Regions from separate parts of the Homo sapiens genome. Here all the other regions are linked to region 4. Evidence: promoter capture Hi-C in 16 types of primary human blood cells and fetal thymus (Javierre and others, 2016). All regions are on one chromosome and are shown on one strand. Each heading gives the region's core, a stretch centred on a gene start or on the middle of the fragment in contact. The rest is flanking DNA. Distances are from core to core; before and after follow the strand shown. Region 1 overlaps ANKDD1A (ankyrin repeat and death domain containing 1A). Region 2 overlaps MTFMT (mitochondrial methionyl-tRNA formyltransferase). Region 3 overlaps SPG21 (SPG21 abhydrolase domain containing, maspardin). Region 4 holds the start of RBPMS2 (RNA binding protein, mRNA processing factor 2). Region 5 overlaps ANKDD1A (ankyrin repeat and death domain containing 1A).

Region 1 (2,700 bases), core at 1-2,500, 150 kb before region 4:
AATTAGCTGGGTGTGGTGGCGGGCGCCTACAGTCCCAGCTATTCGGGAGGCTGAGGCAGGAGAATGGTGTGAACCCGGGAGGCGGAGCTTGCAGTGAGCCAAGACAGCGCCACTGCACTCCAGCCTGGACGACAGAGCGAGACTCCGTCTCAAAAAAAAAAAAAAAAAAAAGGGAATTTGCTGTAACATATTTTGCCTAATGATTCACAAGGGTCCAATGATAAGAGTCATTTGCAGGGTAGACCCTCTGGTCCCCGTCCCTTACCCCTTCTCAGATTGGTGAAATCCTGCTCACAAGCCCTGAATGATATGCTACCTTCTCCATGCTCCCAACCTATTCCTGCCATAACCATAGCAGAGCAGATGTGTGGCTACCACCCCCTAACACTTCCCCACATCTGTCAACAACAGACAACCCCAGTAGATCACAGCCCTGCTCAACCCACTCCAGGCAGCACTACCAACCACCCAGATCTGCCACCCTGGCCAGCCACGTCGGATCAGAAATCCTTACTATGCCTGTGGCACTGAGTTCCTCGAGTAAGAAACGGTGTCTTGGGCATCTTTATGCCACCAACCTGTAGCACAGGGCTGGCCCATAGCACACGCTGGTGAAGGGCCTGCTGGATGAACACTAAATACACTCTCATCTTTGGGCCACACGGGCCTCCAGCGCAATCGGAGTCAGACGTGGACACAGGTGAGGAGCCAGAGCCTGGAAGGTGGCAAGTTTTGCACCCTGGTCAGGATCCCAGAGCCTCACGGACACGGTACCTTGTCTTTGACATTGTGGTCACAGCCAGAGCCCACGAGGAAGTCCAGAGCATCCAGCTGCCCGTGCTCAGCTGCCCTGTGAAACGCCGTCCTCCCCAGCTGGCCGGGAGGAGAAGCGGTGTGAGCCTTCCTCACTCTGTCAGTGGGCATACCTGCCTCTGCCCACCTGGCCTCTGTTCCCCAACCACTCTGGCTTTGTAGTGGCCTCTCCTGCCCCAGACACTGTCCTCTCCCCTTGCCTCCCCACACCCTGCCTGGAAAGCCCAGACCCAACTTCCCAACAAGAGACACTTGCTGGGGTCCCTCCCTGGCTGAAGTCCTGAGGTGGCTCCTTGCTGCCTAATGAATAAACAGATTCTTGAGGATGGGGGTTGAGATCGCCAGAGGGACCCCCAACCACCCATCAGACCTTCCCTCCTAAGATTCCAGTCCCTCAGAACTCACACTAGAGCCCTTTCCTGTCCCTAAAGCTCCCACAAGCCTCGCTCTTCCATTTGGTGCCCTCTCCAACCCCTGATTTCCAATCTTACCCACAAATCCAGTTTATTTACCAAATGCCACCTCCTCCAGGAAGCAGAAGCAATGGCTTGCTTTTCTAACCCACCTAGTCCTTGATCAAGACCTCTCTGTGGCAACTGACTGTGTTCTGCTTGTATTCTGCTCATTTGCGCCTCAACACCTCTTCCCAACCAGCGGCTCCCCAGGCCAGGTGCAATATGCCCACAGATCAAAGGATGCACCCAAGGAATGTGGTAAGCCCAGTGTGCAAGAGTGGCCCCAGGAGCCCCCCGCCCAATGGGAATGATGAGTAGCCCTGAGGCACTCTCACCTTGTCTACGTGGTCCAGGGCCACATCCTCCAGGTCCTCCATTATGAACGCCAGCACAGGCACATGGCCTTTTTGGGCTGCGCAGTGCAGTAAGGTCAGGCCATCCTGGAAACAAGTGCAGGAGGGTTCCTGCAGTCTGTGAAGGGAGGCCCTTTTCACACACTGCCAGTCTCCCAAACAGCGAGTGTTTGGGACCCAGAACACAGCCTCCCCATGGATACAACACTGTAAATGATGAATGGACCCGAGGGATAACCCACTCTGCTGCCCACTTAGCCTTAGGGGGGCTGGCAGGAGTCGGGATGCCAAAATTCAAATCCCAGCTCCAGCACCCCTCAGCTCCGGAGTCTCGGGCCAGTTACCTCCACCTCTCTGAGCCTCCACTTTCACACAGGACAAACTAGCATCATAATCCCCGACCACTTCAGTGGGTGGTTGAGAGGACTGGACCTACAGGAAAGGTATTTTATCAACTGAAAATTAATTCAAACATGTACGGTGAGGTCGTGTAGCACTAGTAGCCTCCAGAACAGTTAAGAAGGTTCTAGGTATCTGCCTTCCTTGATACAGCTGCTAATGAAGAAGCAGGTGACCAAGTGACCAGTGTATGTCACTAGGAAGTGACCTCCTCACCTTCTAGGGCAGATTAAGAGCAGATGTGGTCTGCAGGGAGTAGAGGGAAGTGGCCTGGGTTGGGGGTGGACAGGAAGAAGGTCTCTGGGGCCTAGAAGCAAAAGGAAGGAGACTTGCAAATACTATGTTTATGCCCCAGAGCTTCTACTCCTGCCTTGTATTAAGGTCAGATTATTTGAAGTCCTGTTTGCAACCCATCAGTGGGTCATAAAAATCAGTACAACAGTGTTTTACATCTTGACAGTGGTCAAATCTCAGTGAATATAAATTTTCAATATGTGTACTTCTTTTTTTTTTTTTTTTTTTTTTTGAGTCGGAGTCTCACTCTGTCTCCCAGGCTAGAGTACAGTGGTGCGATCTCGGCTCACTGCAACTTCCACCTCCTGGGTTCAAGCAATTCTCCTGCCTCAACCTCCCGAGTAGCTGGGATTACAGGCAGCCACCACCACGCCCGGCTAATTTTT
Region 2 (2,700 bases), core at 181-2,680, 230 kb before region 4:
TTAGTAGAGACGGGGTTTCACCATGTTGACCTGGCTGGTCTCGAACTCCTATCCTCAGGTGATCCACCTGCCTCAGCCTCCCTAAGTGCTGGGATTACAGGCATGAGCCACTGCCCTGGCCCTGAGTAGACATTTGTTTCAAGCAGATACATAATATGAATGGCCAGTAAGCATATAAAAGATCAGCAACTTCATCTGTCTTTAGGGATATGCAAATCAGAACCACAATGAGATACCACTTCACACCCATTAGGATGGCTATAATTCAAAAAACAGACAAAAACTAGTGTTGGCAAGGATGTGGAGAAATTTGGAAACTTCATACATTCATGGTACCATGTTTACCTCTTAAAAATGGTGCAACCTGTGTGGAAAACAGTTTGGCAGTTCCTCAAAAAGTGAAACACAGAAGTATCTTATGACCCAGCATTTCCTTTCCTAGGTTTATACTCAAGAGAATTGGAAACATTGTGCTCACACAAAAATGTGTACCCGAATCTTCATAGCAGCATTATTCAGAATGGCCAAAAAGTGAAAACAACCCAAATATCCAACTGAGGGATGCGTTAAAAAAATGTGGTATATAGCCATACGGTGGAATATTATTAATACTCAGCCATAACCATAATCACATGCTTATGACATGGATGAACCTGAAAAATATGCTAAGTGAAAAAACCCTGTCACAACAGACTACATATGTTATTATTCCATTTATATGAAATGTCCAAAATAGGCAAATCCATAGGCTGGAGGAGAGAGGATAATGGGAATTTTCTGATAATGGATGGCGTTTTTTCTGGGAGAGAGAGGTAATGAAAATGTTCTAAAAATTAGGCAAGAAAAAAACGAGTGACATTGGTTGAATGACCCTGAGTCTACTAAAAACCACTGACTTGGAAGCTTCAAAAGGGTGAATTTTCTGGTATGTGAATTACATCTCAATAAAGCTGTCAAAAAACAAAACAAAACAAAAAAACAACCCAAGATGGAAAAGAGTTGGACATGTTTGAGGGACAGAAATGAGGCTGGTGTGGCTGGAGCATAGCTGGCAAGATGGAGAGTAGCTAAGGTGAGGGGAGAAGCAAGATTGAGTAGGATTGACATCAGAGGGCCACGGCAGGGGAGTAATGGGATTAGGTATGTACATTCTTAAAAGGTTGCCCTGGCTGCTGCTAGAGAGTGGAGTGGAGGTCAGTTAGGGAATTGGTTGGGTGTGGTGGCTCACACCTGTAATACCAGCACTTTGGGAGGCCAAGAAGAGTGAATCGCTTGAGCCCTGGAGTTCCAGACCAGTCTGGGCAACATGGTGAAACCCTGTCTCTACAAAATATACAAAAATTAGCTAGGTATTGTGGGATGCACCTGTAGTCCCAGCTACTCGGGAGGCTGAGGTAGGAGGATCACTTGACCCTGGGAGGTTGAGGCTGCAGTGAGCTGTGATTCCACCACTGCACTTCCAGCCTGGATGACAGAGCAAGATCCGGTCTTTAAAAAAAAAAATTAAAAAAATAAAAAGAAGCTGCTGCGACTGTAGCCAGATGACAGATGATGGCAGTTTGGAACAATGATAATGGTGGATAAAAAGAAGTGGACATCCAGACTATGCTTGGAGATAGAGTCAGCGGAATTTGCTGATGGAATCTGGGAAATTAGAGATAGATAAATTAGGATCATTCATAGATTTTTGGCTTGAGAAACTGGGTGAATAGTGGAACCATTTAATTGAGATGAGGATGTCTGGGGAGGAACATTTGGGAAGAGAAATCAATAGTTTTGGCCATGTTAAGTTTGACATATATTAAGTTAGAAGACGTTCATATGGAGATATCAAGTAGACAACTTCCTGAGATGCAATTTAGGCCAGTAGCTTGAAATCTCTTGGCACCTATAACTTACTACATGATGATTCTTACCCTCTGCGGTTTATCTTCCCTGTACATGGAGAAAAGCTTTGTGCTATAAAAGACTGAGCCAGAAGGTGGGGTTTGGTTCCTAGAGTTGCCCTTTACTAATGAGAGGAAGGCCCTTGTCTTTGAGCTTCTGCTTTTTTTACCTCTAAAGTGGGATTAATGACCATGTACACAACTGGCAAGATCAAAGGAAATGAACTAGGTGAATGTAAATTCATGCAAACATACTATTTTGGCAGTAATGATGGCAGACACCAAAATGATTATATTCTTACCATCCCTTTCCTTTCTACAATGCTCTGATGATAAGGTGAGCTTTACCTCCCGAAGAACAAGACTATATTCTGAGTATGTACCTAGCATGTTTATTACTCTCAGTAAATAGAAATCTTTTTTAGTCAGTAAGCATGTTTCAAAAATATTTTGAGTTATTTAAAAGAAAAAAATTGCACATATGAAAATCGTTTCAGAACTTTTATTGAAGCGGGCAAAAGAAAAGTGAGCTAGCAAGTTATAGAAGAGGCTATGACATAGATACAGTTATGAACTTGTTCTTCAAATTCATTTACTTATTTGATTTAATGTTCAAATTATTACAACAACCTAACTCTTCTGAAAGTTAAATACCCTCTTTAAGGGGTGTCATAAAAAGAGCACTGCACTGAGAATCAGAAAACAGAAGCCAGTCCTGGCTTTGCTACTAACTAGCTGGGTCCAACCTTGGGAAAATAGCTGCATTTCTCTGAGCCTCACTCTCTTCATGTATGAAATAGAGGATTGAACTACA
Region 3 (2,700 bases), core at 197-2,696, 190 kb before region 4:
TCCTCAAATAAAAGTTTAATTATATGAAGCCATAACTCTTTGGAAGCTTGGGAAAGTGTGTGTAAAAACTAGATGCTGAGCTCTTTGGAGGAGGGGATTAGGACTTTTTATTTCTAGATCCCAAGCTAATACAAAGCTTTAATGTTGAATGAATATTTGCCATGTGTAGTCTTGGAAGTTTAAATTATAAGGTCTTTGTGTTTTACAGCTTTTGGCTGATGCCTGCATTTATGCTCAAAAAAATAGTTCTTGGAAATTTTTCATCTGGCCCGGTGGACCCTATGATGGCTGATGCCATTGATTTCATGGTAGACAGGGTAAGGATCATGACATTGGGTTGGGGACACATTGTATTGGGAATTTTCACATCTACTTGGTTCCAGAAGATAGATCTGTCTCACAAGTATGTGTAAGAGGTATTTGCTAAGCAGAGTAATACATCTGAGCAGATATTATTGCTGGTAAGGGCTTGCCTACATCAGTGCTTCCCACCAGCTATTCATCAAAATCACTTAGGGGAGCTTTCAAAAATACAGATTGTAAGGCCTCACAGCAGATCATCCATCTGGAATCCCTGGGCATGGGATCTGGGAATCTATTTTTACTTCACACTTTTCCTCTACCCACCAGGTAAATCTGATGAACCAGGTCTGTTGGCTTGCATTTAGGAACTGCTGGGCTAGATGATTTCTCAAATCTCTTTTAAGATCCCTTAAAGGTTTATCTTAAAAAAAAAAAAAAAACAAAAACATATATCTGTCACCTTTGAGCAGTAGGAATTGGCTTGCTGCCCATGGGCACCTGGCTGGAGTAGGCAGTGTAGGCTGAGGGCTGTAGAAGGCCGGGTTTCATTGGTTTGTACCCAGGTTTCCAGAATAGAAAAATGCCACAACCTCCTGAGAAGCCCAGTTCATGGTCTCTCACCTAAGTTGTGGTTCCTCACTGATGACTTTTCTGGCCCCACCACAGATGATACCACCTTTATAAGCACAAATGTTGTCTGTGGATTTAATGTAAATGTGAAAAACAAAATTATTTCAAAAACTTTACCTGTGTTTCTTCCTGCAGCTAGAAAGTTTGGGTCAGAGTGAACTGGCTTCAAGACTTACCTTGAATTGTCAAAATTCTTATGTGGAACCTCATAAAATTCGGGACATACCTGTAACTATTATGGATGTAAGCTTCCTTTTAAGTAAAATAGCTGCTTTACTTTTTAAAATGTGTATGTCAAGATCTCCTATAAAACTATTTGATAACTTTCAATGTACCTCTTCAAATGCTGCCTTGGCTTTTGTTTTTACCCTCCAGCTTTCTCAATTCCAAAATAATCTGTTTATTGCTTATCTTGGATTTCTTTCTGGCAGGAATAACACCATTGAAATCAAAATAGGCCGAGCACAGTGGCTTATGCCTGTAATCCCAGCGCTTTGGGAGGCTGAGGCAGGAGGATTGCTTGAGTCCAAGAGTTCAGGACCAGCCTGGGCAACATAGTGAGACCCTGTCTGTATTTATTAAAAAAAAATAAAAATAAAAATGAATCAAAATAAATTTAAACAAGGGAGTCTACCCATTTGATGTATTTTTGCTGTTCTCATCAATAGATATTGCACCATATATTGCACATATATGGGCAGCAAAGAGAAGGTGCTTCACAAGGGTAACAAGGGTAGAGAATCAAGAATTCCATAGTTTAATTACCACAAAAGCTTGCTTATTTTTTTATTGTGGTAAAATGTACATTTAAAATATGCCATTTTAACCATTTTTAAGTGCATAGTTCAGTGGCATTAAGTATATTCACAGTTCGGCAACCATCACCATTTTCACAACATTTTCATCATTCCAAGAAGAAATTGCATACCCATTAAACAATAACTCCTGTTCCCTTTCTTCCCCCGGCCTCTGATAATCAACGGTTTTATTTTCTGTCTATAAAAATTTACCTATTCTAGAACCTCATATAAGTAGAATCATACAACATTTATCCTTTTGTGTGGCCATTTCACTTAGCATAATGTTTCACAAGACTTATCTTGAAATGTTATACATGTGTCAGAATGTCATTTCTTTCTTTTTTTTTTTTTTTTTTTGGAAACAGGGTCTCACTCTGTTCCCCAGGCTGGAGTGCAGTGGTGCAATCTCAGCTCACTGCAACCTCTGCCTCCCGGGCCCAAACAATCCTCCCTCCTCAGCCTCCTTAGTAGCTTGGACCACAGGCTCACACCACTACGTTCGGCTAATTTTTTGTAGAGATGGGGTTTCACCATGTTGCCCATGCTGGACTCAAACTCTGGGACTCAAGCTGTCTGCCTGCCTGGGCCTCCCAAAGTGCTATGACAGGCATGAGCCACCACGCCCAGCCTATTTCTTTTTAAAGCTGAATAATATCTACCAATAAAACCAATGTTGGTTTATACCACATTTTGTTTATCCATTCATCCGTCAGTGGTCACTTGGGTTGTGTTCAGCTTTTGGCAATTGTGAATAGTGCTTCTATGAACATTGGTGTAAAAGTATATGTTTGGGCAGGGCACAGTGGCTCATTCCTGCAATCCCAGCACTTTGGGAGGCTGACTCAAGAGGATTGCTTGAGCCCAGGAATTCGAGACCAGTCTGGGCAATACAGGAGACCCTGTCTCTACTACTAATAAAGAAAATTAGGCCGGGCGCGGTGGCTCACCCCTGTAATCCCAGAACTTT
Region 4 (2,700 bases), core at 194-2,693:
AGATTATAATTTACTGGGAAGACTAAGCCACAGCACAGTGATCCTGTGGTGCTAGTCCTACCTAATTCAGGAGGTCGACACACAGAGGTTCTGGGGGCTCAGGCACTTGTCCACGGTCTGGGATCCTAACCAGTCCGTGACTGCAAATCCAGCTTTTCTTTTTTCTTTTCTTTTTTTGAGACGGAGTTTCGCTCTTGTTGCCCTGGCTGGAGTGCAATGGCAAGATCTCGGGTCACCGCAACCTCCGCCCCGTCCAGGAGAAGGGGCACTGAGGAGGGACCCAGTTCTCCCGCGGCTCTGCCGGATTCAGGCTGCAGCGCTTCCAGCGCTCCCCGAGGTGGGTGCGGGTTTCTACTGTGGCAGCAGGGCGGGCCCCCATCGGCTGGGTTTTCAAATAGAAGAGAAAACCGACCCAGAGGCCGCGCCCTACTGACCTGCGCGGGGGTGCGGGGGGAGTCACGACGACCTCCCCCACCTCCCCCAGCCTCTAGGCTATTACATCCGTCCCCAGCCTTCGGGCTCAGAATAGGAGGCAGGGAAAGGTGTGAGGGGCACTGAGGTCGGGGGAGGAGCGAGAAGACCCGAAAGCCAGGCGTGTTGAGGGCAAGGTGGGCAACAGAACCTTCTTGGTCATTCGAGGCAGCCCTCGCTAATGACCATTGGGGTCCCAACACTCGAATCCCCACCTAAGTCCTATTCAGATAGTGACTGGGAGTGGGAAGGGAGTTTGAGATCCTAAGTCCCACCCTCTGGGCTGGGAGCCTGAGGCCAGAGAGGGGAAGTGATTTCCTCAAGGTCACTCAGCAAAACAGCGCCCAGCCCGGGCCAAAGCTCAGGTGTCTCCCAACCCCCTCCCCCCGGCCATCACCCCCAGAACTCGGTCCCCCGGAGCTGAGGTCTGCGCGACTGGATTTAGGGGCAGAATGAGTGCGTCGGGAACCCCAAAACCCTAGATCAAGATACAAGGGGAGTCGACGGCCCGGAAACCTCGCTGCGGGTGCCCTAAGCGCGAGGCCGCCCGGGCAGGGCCGCCCAGGGACCGGGGCGCTGGGTGCGGGGCACGGGGCTCCACCTCCCGCGGGCTGGGGCGCGCAGCGCGCGGCCCCTTTAAGAAAGTTCGCCGGGCGAGTTCATCAAAGTTTAAAAACTCGCCGTGGAGAAGGGCGCGGGGGAAGAGGAGAGAGGGAGAGCGCTGACCCAGGCGAGAGAGAGGGGAAAGGCCCGGCCGGAGGCCGGCGCCCCGCGGCCGGGGCCGGGGCGAGCCCACGGTGGGCGGTGGGGATTGGCTGCGCGTTCCCCCGGAGACCGCGCGGCGGGCGGGGGAGGGGGCTGGCCGGGCCCCAGCTGAGGCCGGTTCCGGCCCCGCCCCCCGCCGCCGGCGCCCGCCCCCTCCCCCGGCGCCCGCCCCCCGCCGCCGCTGCCGCCGCCGCCGCCGCCGCGGCGCACTCGCCGGTCGCAGTGAAAAGGCGGAGGCGGCGGCCCCTCCGGCTCCCACTGCCTCCCCCGCCGCACCCCCTCCCCACCTTCCGCACCCGCCAAACTTGATGTGACCCTGGCCCGACGCGGAGGCTGCCCCTCTCACTGCCCCGTGGGTCCCCCGCCACCCGCTCCGCACCCGCGAGCGCACCGCTCCCCGCGCCCCTTCCCACTTCCCGCGGGGCCGGCGCCGCGCTCGCCCTCGCGTTCCTTCCCGCCGCCCCCTCCCCCGCACCATGAGCAACCTGAAGCCGGACGGCGAGCACGGCGGCAGCACCGGCACCGGCTCCGGCGCGGGCTCCGGCGGCGCCCTGGAGGAGGAGGTGGGTCTGTGGCCCCGGGACTTGCCGGGTGAAGCGCACGCCAGGCGGGCGCGGGAGAGGGCGAGCGGGGCCTGCCGCGCCTCGCGGGGCCGGGGTGGCCATCGCTCCCGGCGCCTTCCCGCCGCTGCCCTCTCGCCCGGGTAGGAGCGGCCCGTGTCCGCGGGCGGGAGCGTGCGGCCTGGACTGCCCCGCCGGACAGGCATTGTCTCCCCGCCCTCTCGGGCTCGAGGCGGGCCGCGCGCGCCGGCCGCCGTCCGGGCGTCCCGCGGTGGGCGAGATGCGCCGCGTCCGTTCCATGCCTGCCGCCCGCGCGCCCCTTGCTCCCCACCCCGTAGCCGCTCGCCGCCCTCCTCCGAGGCGCACCTCCTGCGTGGCCAGGACCCCGCCTCGGCGGCACGGAGCGGAGCGGGATTAGCACGGCCCGAGGGCGGCACCCTCACTCCACTGCCTTTTCCGCCCTGACCCCCTCCCCGTGACCTTGGAGGCCTGGGCCGGCCGGCTCCTCGGTTCCTGCGAGCTGTTGTCATGGGGGTGGGCGGGCTTTCTTCACAGCCCCAGAACCTGGGCTTTGGCAGAGGTGAGCCCACAATTTAATTAGTTTGGAAGATGACTAAAGACACTCAGTTCGTCCTTCTCCTCTCTCTGGGTTTGTCCTGGCAACCAAGCCAGGACCCCAAAGCTGGCCTGGGTGGGATCCTGCCAGGAGGGGCGAAATCATCTCGTCCACCGGCCATGTGCGAAAGGGAGGGAGTGTAAGGCGGCTCCGTGGAACCACCAGCAGCTGGGTGGTTAATGGATGGTAGGGAGGATGTGTGTGCGGGGTGGGGTGCTGGATAAAAGCCTCAAAGATATCAGTGAATAGGGACGAGGAGCTAGGCTGGCGGAGACAAGAACTGGAGTA
Region 5 (2,700 bases), core at 181-2,680, 170 kb before region 4:
GATATTTATATGATACTTTTTCTTGCCACAAATACAGAATGTCATTCCATTTACACAAGTCTTTTATAGTTGAACCATTATTGTTTTATTCATATGTGTCATCTGTATTTGTCTTTTAGGTTTTCCAGATGAAACACACACACCATTGTAAATGGAATCTCTTTTAAAAGATTCTCTCTCTATATTTTTTGCCCATTTAGCCATGGTTCATAGGAGTTCTGTGGTGTTAGTATATTTTCTATATTTAGCCATTTCCTTGAATTATTTGATTAATTCTAAGATTTTTTTAGTTGATTCCTCTGGACGTCCTATGTATATTAAGTATTCCATCTGAAATCAATAAGTCTCTCTCTTCCTTTACAATATTTACACTCCTTATTTCTATTTCCTTTTCACACCTTAGTACCAGGGCCAAAATTTCCATATAGATGTTGAATAATAGTGACAACAGCAGGCCCTCTTCTTTTTACCAAGAATGGTTTTAGTTTAGGTATAAACAGTGGGTATCAGTTTGGGCTGATTGGTGAAGAATGTGAAATTCACAATCAATGGGGAGAGGCAGAGTGTGCACCCTGTGCAGAGGCCTGGAGGAGGGACAGAGCACCAGGTGTGTTGGACAGTGTGGGACCAGGCTGTGGGTTGCACAGGCCCTTTCACCAGAAGCACAGAAAACTGAACACATTTCAGGTGTCCCACCCCTCCGCCCAATGGTTGCTTAGGGCGAGGAGAGGCAAGGTGGTACCTGTCCACTGTTGCTCGATGGCGTCGACATGTGCCTCCGTGAACTCCCAGGAATATGCCAGCTTCTTCCACTCACGGGGCTGCAGATACCTGGAGGCCAGCCGCCACAGCACAGAACGGAGCTGCTGTGTTTCCTGCCGATGGTCCTGCTTAAAGGACAAGCTCTTCCCAGAGGGATCACTGGGGTGGTCCTGTGGGGCAGATCCCAAAAGTGCAGAAGCTCTCCCTCATGATCCCAGACAGGGGCAGTGCCGAGCCGAGGCCCCTATGACCCTCCTACCACCTCTGCTGGGGTGCCTGGGAGCTGGAGTCAGCAAGGGCCAGGGGCTTAATGTCCTCTCTTCTGGTTTCTCACTCCATGCCTTGCCTTGACCTCTGGAACCCAAGTTGCTCCCACTGTTCTTCCACCCGGAATTCCTCTGCTCACCTTCCTGCCCCTCAACCTCATTGTCATAGTCAAAAGACTACCCATGTGCTACTTCCAGGGAGCCTTTCCAGATTCCTCCGGTCACCTGCCTCTCTTTCCTGTGTTCTTATAGCATGGGTGTCAGCAGAAGTACTCCGAAGCTTTGGCCAAAACCAGGCAGGGCAAGAATCGGATTTGCTGAATCACAAGGGGTAGTAAAGGGTGGGATTACAAAATCCTTTCTAGCAAAGCAGGCAATGAAATTAGAGGTTACTAAAGAATTCTGTCATAGCATAAATGATGCCCACAGAAGCCTAAGGCCCTCTAAAGGGAATGGATGCAGAGTTCTGGTTGTTAAGTTCAGGGTGAAAAAAATCATCCTGGTGTCTGCAGTTCCAAAGCTTATGTCATGGTCAACAGTCTCTGGCAATCACTGTGAGGTGAAGCTTGGTTCTCACCTGGGGTATTAAAAACTGGTCCCCTGGGGCAGTGTTTTCAGCCCCATCTGCACATTGAGACCATCTGGGAACTTTAAGAACCACTGATGTCTGGCCCCTACCTCAGAGATTCTACCTGAATTGGCCTAGGGGTCCAGGGGAGATTTGTGATTCTGACATGCAGCCACTGCCTTAGTGGTGAGGACCTGTAAAGCCTGAAGTGGCTTAGTACTCAGCACAGAGATGAATCGGCTAGTCCAACCCTCAGTATTAACATTTTGGGATTATATTTAGGAATAATCTGTTGTATGTAAAGGGGTTGTCATGTTTAAGGGAATCTAGCATATCAGTGGGAGAACATCTTATGATTCCTACTGAAATTTATCTACCAATTGATTCTGAAACAGTGATTTTTATTTGAAAGGGATAAGAAGTTTACTAAGTTTGTAAACCACATTGGAATGTTTAAGATATTTGAGATTATTTATAGGTTTAAGTTAATGGTCTTATTAGGATAATTTAAGAATTTAAGAAGCATTTGAAGTGCTTAAAAAGAAAATCTGTTATATTAAGTTTATTTATTCAGTTTCAATGTTTAAGTTAGTTTAACTAAGTTTAAACATGGGACCCAACATTACTCAAAAGACTTCCTTGAAACTGACAGGAAAAATTTACTAGTTGTATAAATAGAATAATAAGATTTATAAAATGAATTTTAAAGTTTAAGAAAAACTAGGTTTTTAAATTTGTAACTTAGCAGATTCAACACAGATGCCCCTCAACTTATGATGGGGTTATGTCTTGATAAAAATCATAATTCGGCCAGGCATGGTGGCTCACACCTGTAATCCCAGCACTTTGGGAGGCTGAGGTGGGCAGATCACAAGGTCAGAAGATTGAGACCATCCTGGCCAACATAGTGAAACCCCATCTCTACTAAAAATACAAAAAATTAGCTGGGCATGGTGGCACACACCTGTAGTCCCAGCTACTTGGGAGGCTAAGACAGGAGAATCGCTTGAACCCAGTAGGCAGAGGTTGCGGCAAGCTGAGATCGCACCACTGCACTCCAGCCTGGGTGACAGAGTGAGACTCCGTCTCAAAAAAAAAAAAAAA

What was found. Contacts are between HindIII fragments. The CHiCAGO score rates a contact against its expected background, and 5 or more counts as called.
Region 1: a fragment that was not itself captured here is called in contact with the fragment with the promoter of RBPMS2 in region 4 in 4 of 17 cell types (M1 macrophages, M2 macrophages, naive CD4 T cells and 1 more); the score reaches 7.0 in M1 macrophages.
Region 2: a fragment that was not itself captured here is called in contact with the fragment with the promoter of RBPMS2 in region 4 in 2 of 17 cell types (M0 macrophages and endothelial precursors); the score reaches 5.9 in M0 macrophages.
Region 3: a contact is called between a fragment that was not itself captured here and the fragment with the promoter of RBPMS2 in region 4, in 1 of 17 cell types (endothelial precursors). The highest score is 5.8, in endothelial precursors.
Region 5: a fragment that was not itself captured here is called in contact with the fragment with the promoter of RBPMS2 in region 4 in 1 of 17 cell types (endothelial precursors); the score reaches 5.8 in endothelial precursors.

Annotation. Positions count from the first base shown.
Region 1 is chr15:64,925,074-64,927,773 of GRCh38, reverse strand. It overlaps ANKDD1A (ankyrin repeat and death domain containing 1A), which reads right to left. Exons shown (of 15, transcript NM_182703.6): 5 at 1,604-1,708; 6 at 775-873. Among named protein-coding and RNA genes, the nearest start is that of ANKDD1A, 15 kb to the right of the region's middle. The HindIII fragment of the contact is 3,928 bases long and covers 1-2,700 here.
Region 2 is chr15:65,008,462-65,011,161 of GRCh38, reverse strand. The region is part of intron 6 of MTFMT (mitochondrial methionyl-tRNA formyltransferase); the gene reads left to right. Among named protein-coding and RNA genes, the nearest start is that of MTFMT, 20 kb to the left of the region's middle. The HindIII fragment of the contact is 1,049 bases long and covers 906-1,954 here.
Region 3 is chr15:64,967,731-64,970,430 of GRCh38, reverse strand. It overlaps SPG21 (SPG21 abhydrolase domain containing, maspardin), which reads left to right. Exons shown (of 9, transcript NM_016630.7): 6 at 209-317; 7 at 1,069-1,176. Among named protein-coding and RNA genes, the nearest start is that of SPG21, 21 kb to the left of the region's middle. The HindIII fragment of the contact is 525 bases long and covers 1,184-1,708 here.
Region 4 is chr15:64,774,332-64,777,031 of GRCh38, reverse strand. It overlaps RBPMS2 (RNA binding protein, mRNA processing factor 2), which reads left to right and starts at 1,443. Exons shown (of 8, transcript NM_194272.3): 1 at 1,443-1,799. The coding sequence starts at 1,713. RefSeq lists enhancers at 1-735, 736-1,582 and a silencer at 1,018-1,267. The HindIII fragment of the contact is 6,915 bases long and covers 1-2,700 here.
Region 5 is chr15:64,945,636-64,948,335 of GRCh38, reverse strand. It overlaps ANKDD1A (ankyrin repeat and death domain containing 1A), which reads right to left. Exons shown (of 15, transcript NM_182703.6): 13 at 743-932. Among named protein-coding and RNA genes, the nearest start is that of ANKDD1A, 35 kb to the right of the region's middle. RefSeq lists enhancers at 369-869, 870-1,370. The HindIII fragment of the contact is 240 bases long and covers 1,311-1,550 here.